Regions from separate parts of the Homo sapiens genome. Here all the other regions are linked to region 1. The links are contacts of gene promoters, found by promoter capture Hi-C in blood cells and fetal thymus (Javierre and others, 2016). All regions are on one chromosome and are shown on one strand. The core of a region is centred on a gene start or on the middle of the fragment in contact, and the rest is flanking DNA. Distances in the headings are between cores, read along the strand shown.

The links. The method cuts DNA at HindIII sites, captures the fragments that hold promoters and counts their contacts. A CHiCAGO score of 5 or more calls a contact.
Region 2: a contact is called between a fragment that was not itself captured here and the fragment with the promoter of EXOSC5 in region 1, in 5 of 17 cell types (naive CD4 T cells, total B cells, endothelial precursors and 2 more). The highest score is 6.9, in naive CD4 T cells.
Region 3: a contact is called between the fragment with the promoter of LINC01480 here and the fragment with the promoter of EXOSC5 in region 1, in 16 of 17 cell types (total B cells, naive B cells, naive CD4 T cells and 13 more). The highest score is 17.0, in total B cells.

The regions. Positions count from the first base shown.
Region 1 is chr19:41,395,643-41,399,382 of GRCh38, forward strand. It overlaps EXOSC5 (exosome component 5), which reads right to left and starts at 1,717. Exons shown (of 6, transcript NM_020158.4): 1 at 1,539-1,717. The coding sequence starts at 1,686. BCKDHA (branched chain keto acid dehydrogenase E1 subunit alpha) reads left to right here and starts at 2,176. Exons shown (of 9, transcript NM_000709.4): 1 at 2,176-2,293. The coding sequence starts at 2,186. RefSeq lists a silencer at 1,640-1,928 and enhancers at 1,687-2,359, 1,925-2,204, 2,360-3,031. The HindIII fragment of the contact is 9,689 bases long and covers 1-3,740 here.
Region 2 is chr19:41,567,446-41,571,185 of GRCh38, forward strand. It overlaps a transcript of CEACAM21 not described here. Among named protein-coding and RNA genes, the nearest start is that of CEACAM21, 6.8 kb to the right of the region's middle. RefSeq lists a silencer at 2,387-2,681. The HindIII fragment of the contact is 2,694 bases long and covers 828-3,521 here.
Region 3 is chr19:41,533,377-41,537,116 of GRCh38, forward strand. LINC01480 (long intergenic non-protein coding RNA 1480) reads left to right here and starts at 2,122. Exons shown (of 3, transcript NR_110724.1): 1 at 2,122-2,225; 2 at 2,338-2,407; 3 at 3,225-3,528. The HindIII fragment of the contact is 2,878 bases long and covers 1,834-3,740 here.

The sequences.
Region 1 (3,740 bases), core at 467-2,966:
TGGCCCCAGGTCACCACCATCTCCTGGTTTCCCCCTAACTCTCTGGGCGTTCCTTCTGAGTCTCCTTTGCTAGCTTGTCACATGTCTCTGACTGCTCAAGTTGGAAGGCCTAGGGCTTGGTCCTGGGACCTCTTCTCTTTTCCATCTACACTCACTTCGTTCAGGCAATAGCCTGAAATACCATCTATATAGCCAGAGAGTTCCAAATTGCCTATGTCCAGCTTGGGTCTCTCTTCTGATTTCCAGACTTGTACAGATCTGGGCAGAAACCTTAGTTATGCCTGAATCTTTTTCCTCGCACTCAAACCAAACTATACGTAAGTTTTGTCCGTATTACTTTCAAACTACATCCAGAATCTCATCACCTCCACTACTCCTGCTCTGGCTGGAGCCACCATCACCTCCCTGTTTTCCCCCATACTCCCCACAATCAACACAGCAGCCAAATTTTGTTAAAATGTATTGGGGCTGGGCGTGGTGGCTCATACCTGTATGAGCACTTTGGGAGGAGGATTGCTTGAGCCCAGGAGTTCAAGACCAACCTGGGTGACATCGTGAGACGCTGTCTCAATTTTTTTTTTTTTTGAGACAGAGTCTTGCTTTGTCGCTCACGCTGGAGTACAATGGCACGATCTCGGCCCACTGCAACTTCTGCCTCCCAGGTTCAAGTGATTGTCCTGCCTCAGCCTCCCGAGTAGCTGGGATTACAGGCGCCCGCCACCATGCCTGGCTAGTTTTTGTATTTTTAGTAGAGACAGGGTTTCGCCATGTTGGCCAGGCTGGTCTCGAACTCCTGACCTCAGGTGAGCCACAGGTCTTGGCCTCCCAAAGTGTGGGGATTACAGGCGTGAGCCACCGCCCCCGGCCTCCCGTCTCAAACGTTAAAGAGAAATATTCTTGGAGTTAATCTACTTCTGAGAGTTATTTAGCTAGGAAAAGGGGATATTTGCTCTATAGGTAAGACTTGCCCTAATCTTTTTTTTTTTTTTTTTTTTGACTTGCCCTAATCTTAGGGATATTTACTTGTGTGGAGAGATGCAGTGAGGTAGCGGTGGGGATGTATTTCTCAACCCAGCGCAATGACATTATCTTCAATTTGAGGAGTATTTACGTGGGTGAAAGATCCGCCACAGTCCACAGTATGCAAATAGACAGGTTTGCTTCAGTCCGGGATGCAAGGACCTAGAGGGTGTGTGTGTGGGGGGTGGGGGTGGGAGGGTGGAGGAGGAATCGAGTTAAGGGGGATATTTACCCTGGCGAGGTGATTTTCCCTATTCTGAAATATCAATTCTTGGGCGGACAGTCTGCCCCTCCTCTCATTCTCAGAGATAGTTACAAAGATGGAACTATCTTCTCCTTTCTAGTCGTGAGGGAGAGATGTGTGTATCCCTGCGTATTTAGTAGTATTCAATCGGACAAGAAATCATGCATCAACGCAGGAGTGACATTTACCAGCTGGTATCGTGAGGAGGTGGGCACTCGGTTGCACAGTACACGGTAGTCCCTCTCCAAAAGAAAGACCTGGGTGAAGTTCTTACCTTGCAGGAAGGAAGCAGAGCCATCTGGCCGCGACAGCAGGTTCTGTTCGCAGGCAAAGTGCCGGAGGCTGCAGCCAGGACCCCGAGGGCTGGACCCTGTTCCATTTTCAGCACGGATTTTGGCGTCAGTATGCGTCTCCTCCTCCATCGCGCCGAGCCCACGTGCGGCTGCAGTTGTCACTTCCGCCTGGCAGCGCGCGCCGCAAACAGGCTGCGTAACCAGTGCGCACGCGCCGGGCTGGGCCATCCTCCTGGGCGTCCGCACGTGGCTTAGCGTTTACCAACAATCTGGCTCCGCCCAGTCCCACCTCCTAACTCTGGCAACGCCATTGGACATTTGGGAACAGAAGGCAGGCCTTGGCATTGATCCGCTTTACTCTGGGCCCCCGGGCCCTAAATCCCTGAGGCCCTGGTCAGGTTGCCCTCTTCTTTGCCTGTTACAGGAGTAACTACAATGAGGCGATTGGAGAAAATTTTGGGTAGATAGATTTTTTTTTCTCCAAATCTCTGTGCATTCTATCTACCACAGAACGGGAAGAAGATGGTTTTCTTGTCAGATGGTGCTGGAGTTTGCGTCAGGCACATAAAGAGGCAGCCCCGAATCTAGCCTACGTGAGTGCCGGACCGCTGAGTGGTTGTTAGCCAAGATGGCGGTAGCGATCGCTGCAGCGAGGGTCTGGCGGCTAAACCGTGGTTTGAGCCAGGCTGCCCTCCTGCTGCTGCGGCAGCCTGGGGCTCGGGGACTGGCTAGATCTGTGAGTACCTGGGCCCCAGGCGGTTTTCCCAAAGGGGATTAGGGATGTAAAGGCTATCTTCAGAGTGTGGGGTCCCTGAAGGATATGAAGGAAGGGCTGTCACAAAAGGGAAAAAGAGTGGGAGACTCCTTGGAGAAGACACCGAAGGGAAGATCTGCCACTTCCTTAGGAGACGAAAAGAACTTCCACTTCTTTAGGAGAGGAAAAAACCCGTTTGCAACTTCTTTGTGGGCCCTGAGGGAGACGACTTGAAGAGAGAGATGGGGGTTCCTTATTAGCTGCCACTGGTATTCAGGGGAGGCTCCTTGGAGGAACAGGGGAAGACCGCAAGACCTTCTCCCTCAGGGTTTGGAGAATGAAACTGACTTTGTAAGGGAGGGACTTTCTTCTGGGCAAAGATCCCTCTTCAAGAAGAAGAAAGAAGAGAACAGGTCCCTGTCACAGGCTGCATAGGGCCTTGTATTTCTTTGCTCCTTTGCCACAATTCTGATTTTAAAATGAATTGTGTAAAAAATTTGTTTGATTCCTGTGTCTCTTGATCGAATATCAAGACAGAGAATTCGTGTGTTCTGGACACTGTACAGAGGAGACGATTAATATTTGTTGAATTAATGAGGGGAAAAAAGGAGGGAGAGAGGTACAGACAGGGCACTTTGCCCACATTTCTTAGAAACACTTGAGAAGGCTTTGTTTCTTGTCAAAAGGGTCACAATCCCTTCAGGTGGATGCTGCTAAGGGCAAGATTACACTGCAAAAAACCTAGGTGGAAGCCTATCTTTAGACGGGGAGAGGCAATGGGTTGCAGAAGAGCTTTGAACTACAGTTGACAGATAGGAGAGTAGTGGTTACATGGGTGGATGCATGTCCTTGCTCTGCCGCTTTCCACTTGTGTAGCCTTGGCCAACGGACTGCACTTCTCTGGATCTATGGAGCTAATTTTCCTCTCTAAAATATTAACAGTGGCCACCTCATAGGGCTGTGAAAAATCAATATGTAAAATGCTAAGGACTGGACCTGGCACATCCTAAGGGCAATAGGAATGTTGATAGTGAGGGTGGAGGGAAGGGACAGAAACTAACCTTGGAGATGGGGAGAAGAAAGGGGTGACCTTGGGAAGGCCTGGATTGGTGAGGCCCTGGGGAAAAAAATCTGAAAAGATATTGTGAGGTTGAGTCTGATCCTCTGATCCCCAATCCATAAGGAGGGGAAGATGGAATCTGTAGAAAGAAGCTCTGGGTAGGGGAACAAACGGGAGGAGGGTGAAGAAGATGGGCCAGGAGTAGGACGTAGTAGGTATCTAGGAACGGAGTCACTTGAAACAGGTAAATACAGAAGGGCTGCAGGAGCAAGGTGTGGGTAGGGCAGTCTCTTGCCTTTGGGCTGGAGACCTTTTCACTTTTTTTTTTTTTTTTTTTTTTGAGCAGTTCATATCCTCCACAGCTGATCT
Region 2 (3,740 bases), core at 925-3,424, 170 kb after region 1:
GCCCTGTTTGAATGGTCATAGAAAATCCGGGATGAGAGTCCAAAGACTCAGCAAACAACAATTTAGCAATTTTGCTACTGCATAAAAGGGTGCCCCCTTTTCAAGCCCACAACAGAGATGTTGCTACTAATCCTGAATTCAACCCAGTTTGTTGCACATTTTAGGATTTCATCCTGATGACTAATTTTAGGGTCACCTATATTTGGTTACCACCTCTATTTGGTTGCAAATAAAACCGAGCACAAGTTGACTGGCAGAAAAAGAGACTGTGCTAGCTCATATCATTGTAAAGTCAGCCAGAAATTTGGCTTATGGCAAAGTTTGGTCTAAGACTCAAACAATCTCGCTAGATCTCCTGACAGTAGGGAAGATGGTGGGTCCCAGTTTTTTTTGTTTTGTTAATCAATAGTGAGGATTGGGAATGTGGAGAAGAAAGGAGGAAGATGCAGTAAAAAAAAAAAAAAAAATGCTTTGGACTTTCCAGACCCTGCATCATTTTGTTTTGGGATTGGCTTCCTTCTTCCTTTTTAGTGCTTCATGATTCACCCTTCATCCTACAGACATAGGTGTTGATGATGGATCATTGAGGGATGTGCTTGACATTTTGGGAACAAGTGGCCTTTGAGGATGGGACTGTGGATGTGGCCTCTGTATCCCAGTCAGATAAAACTATACAGAAACATAATTTTCTTATATATTTTGGATATTATCTTCTTATCAGATGTATATATTTACAAATATATATGTATATATTTACAAATATATTCTCCTCCCATTTGTAGGTTGTCTCTTTGCTCTGCTGGCCTTTTTTTTCTTTGCTGTATAAAAGCTTTTTAGTTTGATGAAATCCCGTTTGTTTATATTTGGTTTTGTTGCTTATGCTGTTGAGATTTTATCCAAAAACTCTTTGCCTAGACCAATGTCATGGATTTTCCCCCTATATTTTCTTCTAGTAGTTTCATAGTTTCAGTTCTTACATTTAAGTCTTTATTTAATACATTTTGAGTTAATTTTTTGTGCATGGTGAGGGATAGGGTCTAGGTTCATTCTTCTGCATATGAATATCCAATTCCCCAGCACCACTTATTGAAGAGGCTGTCCTTTCCCCATTGTGTGCATGTGGCTCCTTGGCTGAAAATCAGTTAGCTAGAGATGCATGGGTTTATTTCTGGGATTTTTATTCTGTTTCATTGATCTATGTGCTTGTTTTTATGCCAGGACCATGCTGATTTGGTTACTATAGCTTTGCAGTATGCTTTGATTGTCAGGAAGTGTAATGCCACTAGCTTTGTTCTATTTGTTTAAGATTGCTTTGGCAACTCAGGGTGTTTTGTGCAGGTTTTAGGAATTTTTGTGGTTTCTAATTTTAGGATCTTCTACTTCTTCGAAGAATATCATTGGTGTTTTGACAGAAATTGCATTGAATCTGTAGACCACTTTGGGTGGTAAGGACATTTTAGCAATATCAGTTCTTCCAATTCATGAACATGGAATATCTTCTATTTGTGCGTGTGTCTTTTTCAATTTATTTCATCAATGTTTTACAGTTTTCATTATAAAGGTCTTTTACTTCCTTGGTTAAATTTACTTCTTTTGTTTCAGCTATCATAAAAGATAGCTTAAAAATTTTAGCAGTAGATAGCTAAGAATAAATTGTATTCTTTTTCAGATAATTCATTATTGGCTATTACTGGTATTACTGGTGGACTATTGCATAGCATGGTTGATTAGAGTTAACAATAATGTATTCCATATTTCTTTTTTTTTTTTTACTTTTATTTTTTGAGACAGGGTCTCGCTCTGTTACCTACACTGAAGTATACAGTGGCACAATCTCAACTCACTGCCAACTCAGCCTCCCCAGCTCAAGCAATCCTCCCACCTCAGCCTCCTGAGTGACTGGGACTACAGGTGTATGCCACCATGCACAGCTAATTTTTGTCTTTTTGTAGAGACAACAACTCGCTATATTGTCCAGCCAGCATAGTCTTGAACCCCTGGGCTCAAGCAGTCCACCCATAATGGATGAGAAAGTGTTGGGATTACAGCTGAGATGGGATTGCGGGGGGCGGGTTGGGGAAGGTGAGGTTCAGAGAGGGCAGGGCCTGCAGGGAGAGGGGCTGCAGGGAGCTAGATACTGCCCCCCAAGGAGGAGGGAGCACTGTTCCCATCAGAGTGCACATCTCCTTGCAGCAGCTGCACAAATAGAGAGCCCTGGCCAGGCTGATGGAGCCTCCCATGCCTGCTTTGCCCCAGGGTGTGGATTCTGAAATCTGTGCCCCTAACGGGTGGGACTGAGGTCCACAGTGACATCCCAGGGGAATCTATGATTCCAAACTCCAGCCACCCCGCCTACAAAATAGGAAAACGCTATGCTTTTCCTATTAAATCCCAAATTCCATCAGTGCAAGCTCTCACCCTCTAAATCAGAAAGTTCAGTCATTCCTGGCGTCCTCCCACACCCCCAGCCTGACTTGCAGACACACAGGGTGGCTGACACCTGTCCCTGCTCCTCCCCCTGGCCCAGCTGCTGTGCATCCTGGAGGTGATGAATGATCAGGACAAGGGAGCCTAGAGCGGGCCCCACAGCTGTCAGGAAGCCAGGACTCAGCCTCCAGGCGGCAGTCACCCTGGTGCCACAGCGACAGCGCTGATGGCCATTCTGAAGACTGGGGGTGTCAGGAGAGCTGGGCGTCCCACAGAACTGCACAGAATAATGGGGAACGAGGGTGACACAGGACTCAGGATTTCAGATGGGTAGGTAGGCTCAGCTGGGAGCTCAGGGACAGACCTGAGGAGCCTCAGTGGGAAGTGCTGAAGTGGAAAGTTCTGGAATGTTTCAGGAAAAAGGCTGGAGGCTTAGAGGAAAGGCTGTCGCTCCTAATATGGCTGGCAACCCTGGATGGGCTGTGTTCCTCCCACCTGCCCATCCTCTCACTGCTGCCACCTCTAGGGACACAACCTCTCTTCATGTCCACCTTCCCAAACTCACCTGCACTCCTCCATTATCTGACTTTATGTGAAAGCAGTGCTAAGATCCCTCTCCTGCAATGCAAGAAGGAGATGAGAGGCCCGGGTCCCCACAGACAACTCAGCAGTGGGGTCCTGCTGAAGTGGGACCGGGCAGAATCATGCACTCCCAACATCCTGGATCCTGACTGGGGGTAACAGTGAAGTTCAAAGACCATGCCATCAAAATCTCCAGAGTGAGGCTCCTCCCTGGGGTCCCTGAGGTCTGTCCAGGAGCTGCTCCCTGAGCAAATCTAGAGCGTGGAGGGCTGGGGTTGTGGCAGTAAAAGCAGCCACATTTGTCTCAGGGTGGAAAGGGAGACGGTGAGCTCCAGTAAGGGCAAGGGCGCCATCTAGTGGGCGCCTCCTGCTAAGGAGCAAGGAGACCAGGAGAGCGGAGATCAGGGCTGGCCTTGGACTAAGGGGTGAGTTCAGGTGGAGGGGACTGAGGTGTAAGGAGGCGGGTGAAGTGGGGAAGTGGTGGGGAGACATGGGAGGAGCAGGTGAGGGGAAGCTTCAGGGAAGCTGCGGGAGGGCACAGCAGGGCTCTCCACTCCTCAGCATTGACATTTGGGTGGTCAAACTGGTGGGGCTCTGTGAACTGCAGGGTGTTCAGCACCATCCACCCACTCAATGCCAGCAGGACTCCCTCCCCCAGCTCTGACAACCAACAATGTTTCCAGACTTTGCCAAATGTCCCCTAGAGGGCAAAATTTCCCCTGGCAGAGTCA
Region 3 (3,740 bases), core at 872-3,371, 140 kb after region 1:
TATCCACTCGTTCGTTGATGGGCACTTAAGTTGGTCCCATATCACTGCAATTGCGAATCGGCTGCTATAAACATCCATATTCTTGTGTCTTTTTTATGGAATAACTTCTTTTCCTTTGGGTAGATAGCCAGTAATGGGATTGCTGGAATGAATGGTCTACTTTTAGTTCTTTAAGGAATCCCCATACTGTTTACCATAGTGGTCGGACTAGTTTAAATTCCCACTAGCAGTGTCAAAGTGCTCCCTTTTGACCACATCTATGCCAACATCTATTGTTTTCTGACTTTTAAATTATGGGCTTCTAGCAAGATTAAGATAGCATCTCATTGTGGTTTTGTTGTGGGATTTAGGAGGATGAGAGAGAGGCTTTGGGTTAAAACAGGAGAATCTTTTATTGAGTGCTCTCAGGCCCAGCAGACTCACGTCCAAAGACAGGGCCTGGAACAAAGACAGCACTTGACTTTTATACACACTTCACAAAAGGGGGTGGGCCAGCTTGAAGCAAGCTTACAGTGGTGTGAAAGCAGGGATACAGAGGCAGGAAAAAGACAGTTAATCAAATTGTAACAGGTTCATAACTCAGGATTGCACATAACTGTTGCTATGCAACCCAGATGTCTATTATCTAGGTTTTGCTCTAAAGAGGCTTGCATTGGTTTATCTTCACTATGGTGCCTAGAGAGCTGTAGTTCAGGCCTGCTCAGGCTTCTCATGACCTTTGCCATACTTCTTAGATAAAACAGAATACTTGAAGTTACTAGTTAAAGAGAACAAGAATCTATAAACTCATACCATAAAACAAAGGAAAATTTGTTTTTCTTCTCCCTACATTGAAGGAGTGCTGGAAGAGTCTCCAGAATACAATAAATAATATTATCAAGACTTTTCCTGGGTCTGGGCTGTGCCTGTTGCTGCCTCTGGGACAAGTTAGCTTAATACAAGAAAGCTTATTTCCCTTTCTTTTTAATTTTATTTTTCTTTAATTTCCCACCTCAGTTTTACTTTGCATTTCCCTGAGAATTTTTAATAAGTAAAATACTTAGAAATATACTTAACCAAGTAGGTTAATGTAAGTTTCCTACAAGGAAAACTACAAAATAGTGCTGAAAGAAATCACAGTTGACACAAACAAATGGGAACACATTATAAGCTTATGAATAGGTAGAATCAATATTGTGAAAGTGACCATACTCTCCAAAGCCATCTACAGAGCAGTAGAATTCTCATCAAAATATCATCATTCTCCTTCCCAGAACTAGAAAAAAGAATCCTAAAATTTATACAAAACCAAAAACGTGACCGCATATCCAAAGCAATACTTTGCAAAAAGAACAAATCTGAAGGCAGGCTTTAAATTATACTACAAGGCTACAATCACCAAAATAGCATGATACTGGTATAAAATATGCACATAGAGCAATAGAACAGAATAGAGAACCCAGAAATAAAGCCAAATGCTTACAGACAACTAATCTTCAACAAAGTACACAAAAACATTAATTGGGGAAAGGATACTTTATTCAATAAATGGTGCAGGAAGTATAAAAATAGGCACATAGAGCAATGGAACAGAATAGAGAACCCAGAAATAAAGCCAAATGCTTACAGACAACTAATCTTCAACAAAGTATGCAAAAACACTAATTGGGGAAAGGACACTTTATTCAATAAATGGTGCAGGAAGTATAAAAATAGGCACATAGAGCAATGGAACAGAATAGAGAACCGAGAAACAAAGCCCGGTACTTTCAGTCACCTGATCTTTAACAAAGCATATAAAAACTTCCATCTAAGACCTGAAAGTCTAAAAATGCTACAAGATAGCATCCAAAAAGCTTTTCTAGACATTGGCTTAGGCCAAGTAGTCATGACTAATGCCCCAAAAGCAAACGCAAAAATATAAAAATAGAATAAGATCAATAGGACCTAATGAAACCGAAAATCTTCTGCAAGGCAGAAGAAATATCAGCAGGGTAAACACACAACCCACAGTATAGGAAACAGTAGTCACAAACTAGGCATCTGACAAAGGACTAATGTCCAGACTCCAAAGGAACTGAAAGAAATCAGCAAGAAGAAAAGGTGCCATTTACCACCTTCCTGACTCATTGGCCAGAACCAATGTTAGTGGAATTAACATATGCCCCACCCCAAGTGACTTCTAAAGGGCTAACTCACCACAAGGGAGTCAGAGCAGATCTTGGACTGAGACCTACAGGACACAGGTACTGCTTTTTCTCTTTTATTTGTTTTAAATTTTATTTATGTTTTTAGATCAAATAGTTCAGATTGCATTGGTTTTTAATCTGCTGTTGTTGGATTAACATATGCTTTAAGCGACTCTTAAATAGGTGGCTCACCAGGAGAAAGGCATAGCAGAACCTGGACTGAGACCTACGGGAGACAGGTATTGCTTTTTCTCTTCTAATCATTTTAAATTTAATTTACCATCTTTCATCAAATAGCTCCGATCATATCATTATTTTTTCTTTTCTGTTTTGTTGGTGGTTTTATTGGTGGAGTTTTATTTTACTATTTTAGAAAAGCAGTCTTTTAAAAAAGACTTTTAAAAAGTTTTATTACTCTTTTTTTTAAAAAAATTATGTTTTCCCTTGATGTGCTTATTTCCTTTATAAAGATCATCACCATTAAATTACTAGGAGATACTGCGGCTGATTTTGTCATGCGTGAGATAAGAAATTTTTTGCCAAAGCAATTAGTGATGAGTGCAATGGAAAAATCCGTGATGATCTTTTAAGATGATTAACTTTCTAATCCAGAAAATGCTGCTGTTTGTACTGAACAAAATAGCTTTATTTTTATATGACCAGGGGTACATAAAATGCTTCAAAACAACACATAATTTGGCAAAAATACTATGTCTTGCCAGCCAGAAGAATAAGTGTGGTTTTATTTCTATGTATATGTCTAGTACCATGCCTGCACTAGAGTTGGGAAATTTTAAAAACATCACCTATTGATACAGAAGAGAAGTGCTGGGAAGGGAAGGGCATGGTCCCTTTGAATGATACAGAAAAGGTGAAGGAAAGTGATGGGTAGAGGAGGCCGGGGTCCCTGGCTAGGGCTCCAAACCTGGGCTTGTGCCCCTGGACCTAGATGAGGACAGGCATTTTTGTTTTCCTGACCAAATGTTGCATTTCCCAAGATCACCCTGGCCCACCATGCCCTATCCTGTGCCTAAAAAAACCCTGGGACCCTAGCAGGCAGACACACAGGAGGTTGGACGTCGAGAGGAGCACATCAGTGCAAGAACACATGGGTGGCTGCCACTTCTCTCCCTTTCCTGAGAGGGAAAAACTCTCGACGCTGAGAGGAATCCACCAACAGGCACCAGCACTCTGGCAGGCCACCGACCAATGGATTGACATAGAGTTTGGCTGGGGCAGCCAGAGGAGAGCCTGGGCCGCTGAATAACCCGACTTCAGGGGAAAACTATTCTCCCTTTTGGCTCCCCCATCTGCTGAGAGCTACTTCCACTCAATAAAACCTTGCACTCATTCTCCAAGACCACGTGTGATTTGATTTTTCTGGTACACCTAGGTAACAACCGCGGGATACAGAAAGCCCTCTGTCTTTGGGTTAAGGAATGGGTCTAATTGAGCTGGTTACCACAAAGCCACCTATAGATGGCAAAACTAAAAGAGCACATGGTACCACATGTCCACTGGGGCTTCAGCAGCTGTAAACATCTACCCCTAGATGCTGCCATGGGGTTGTAG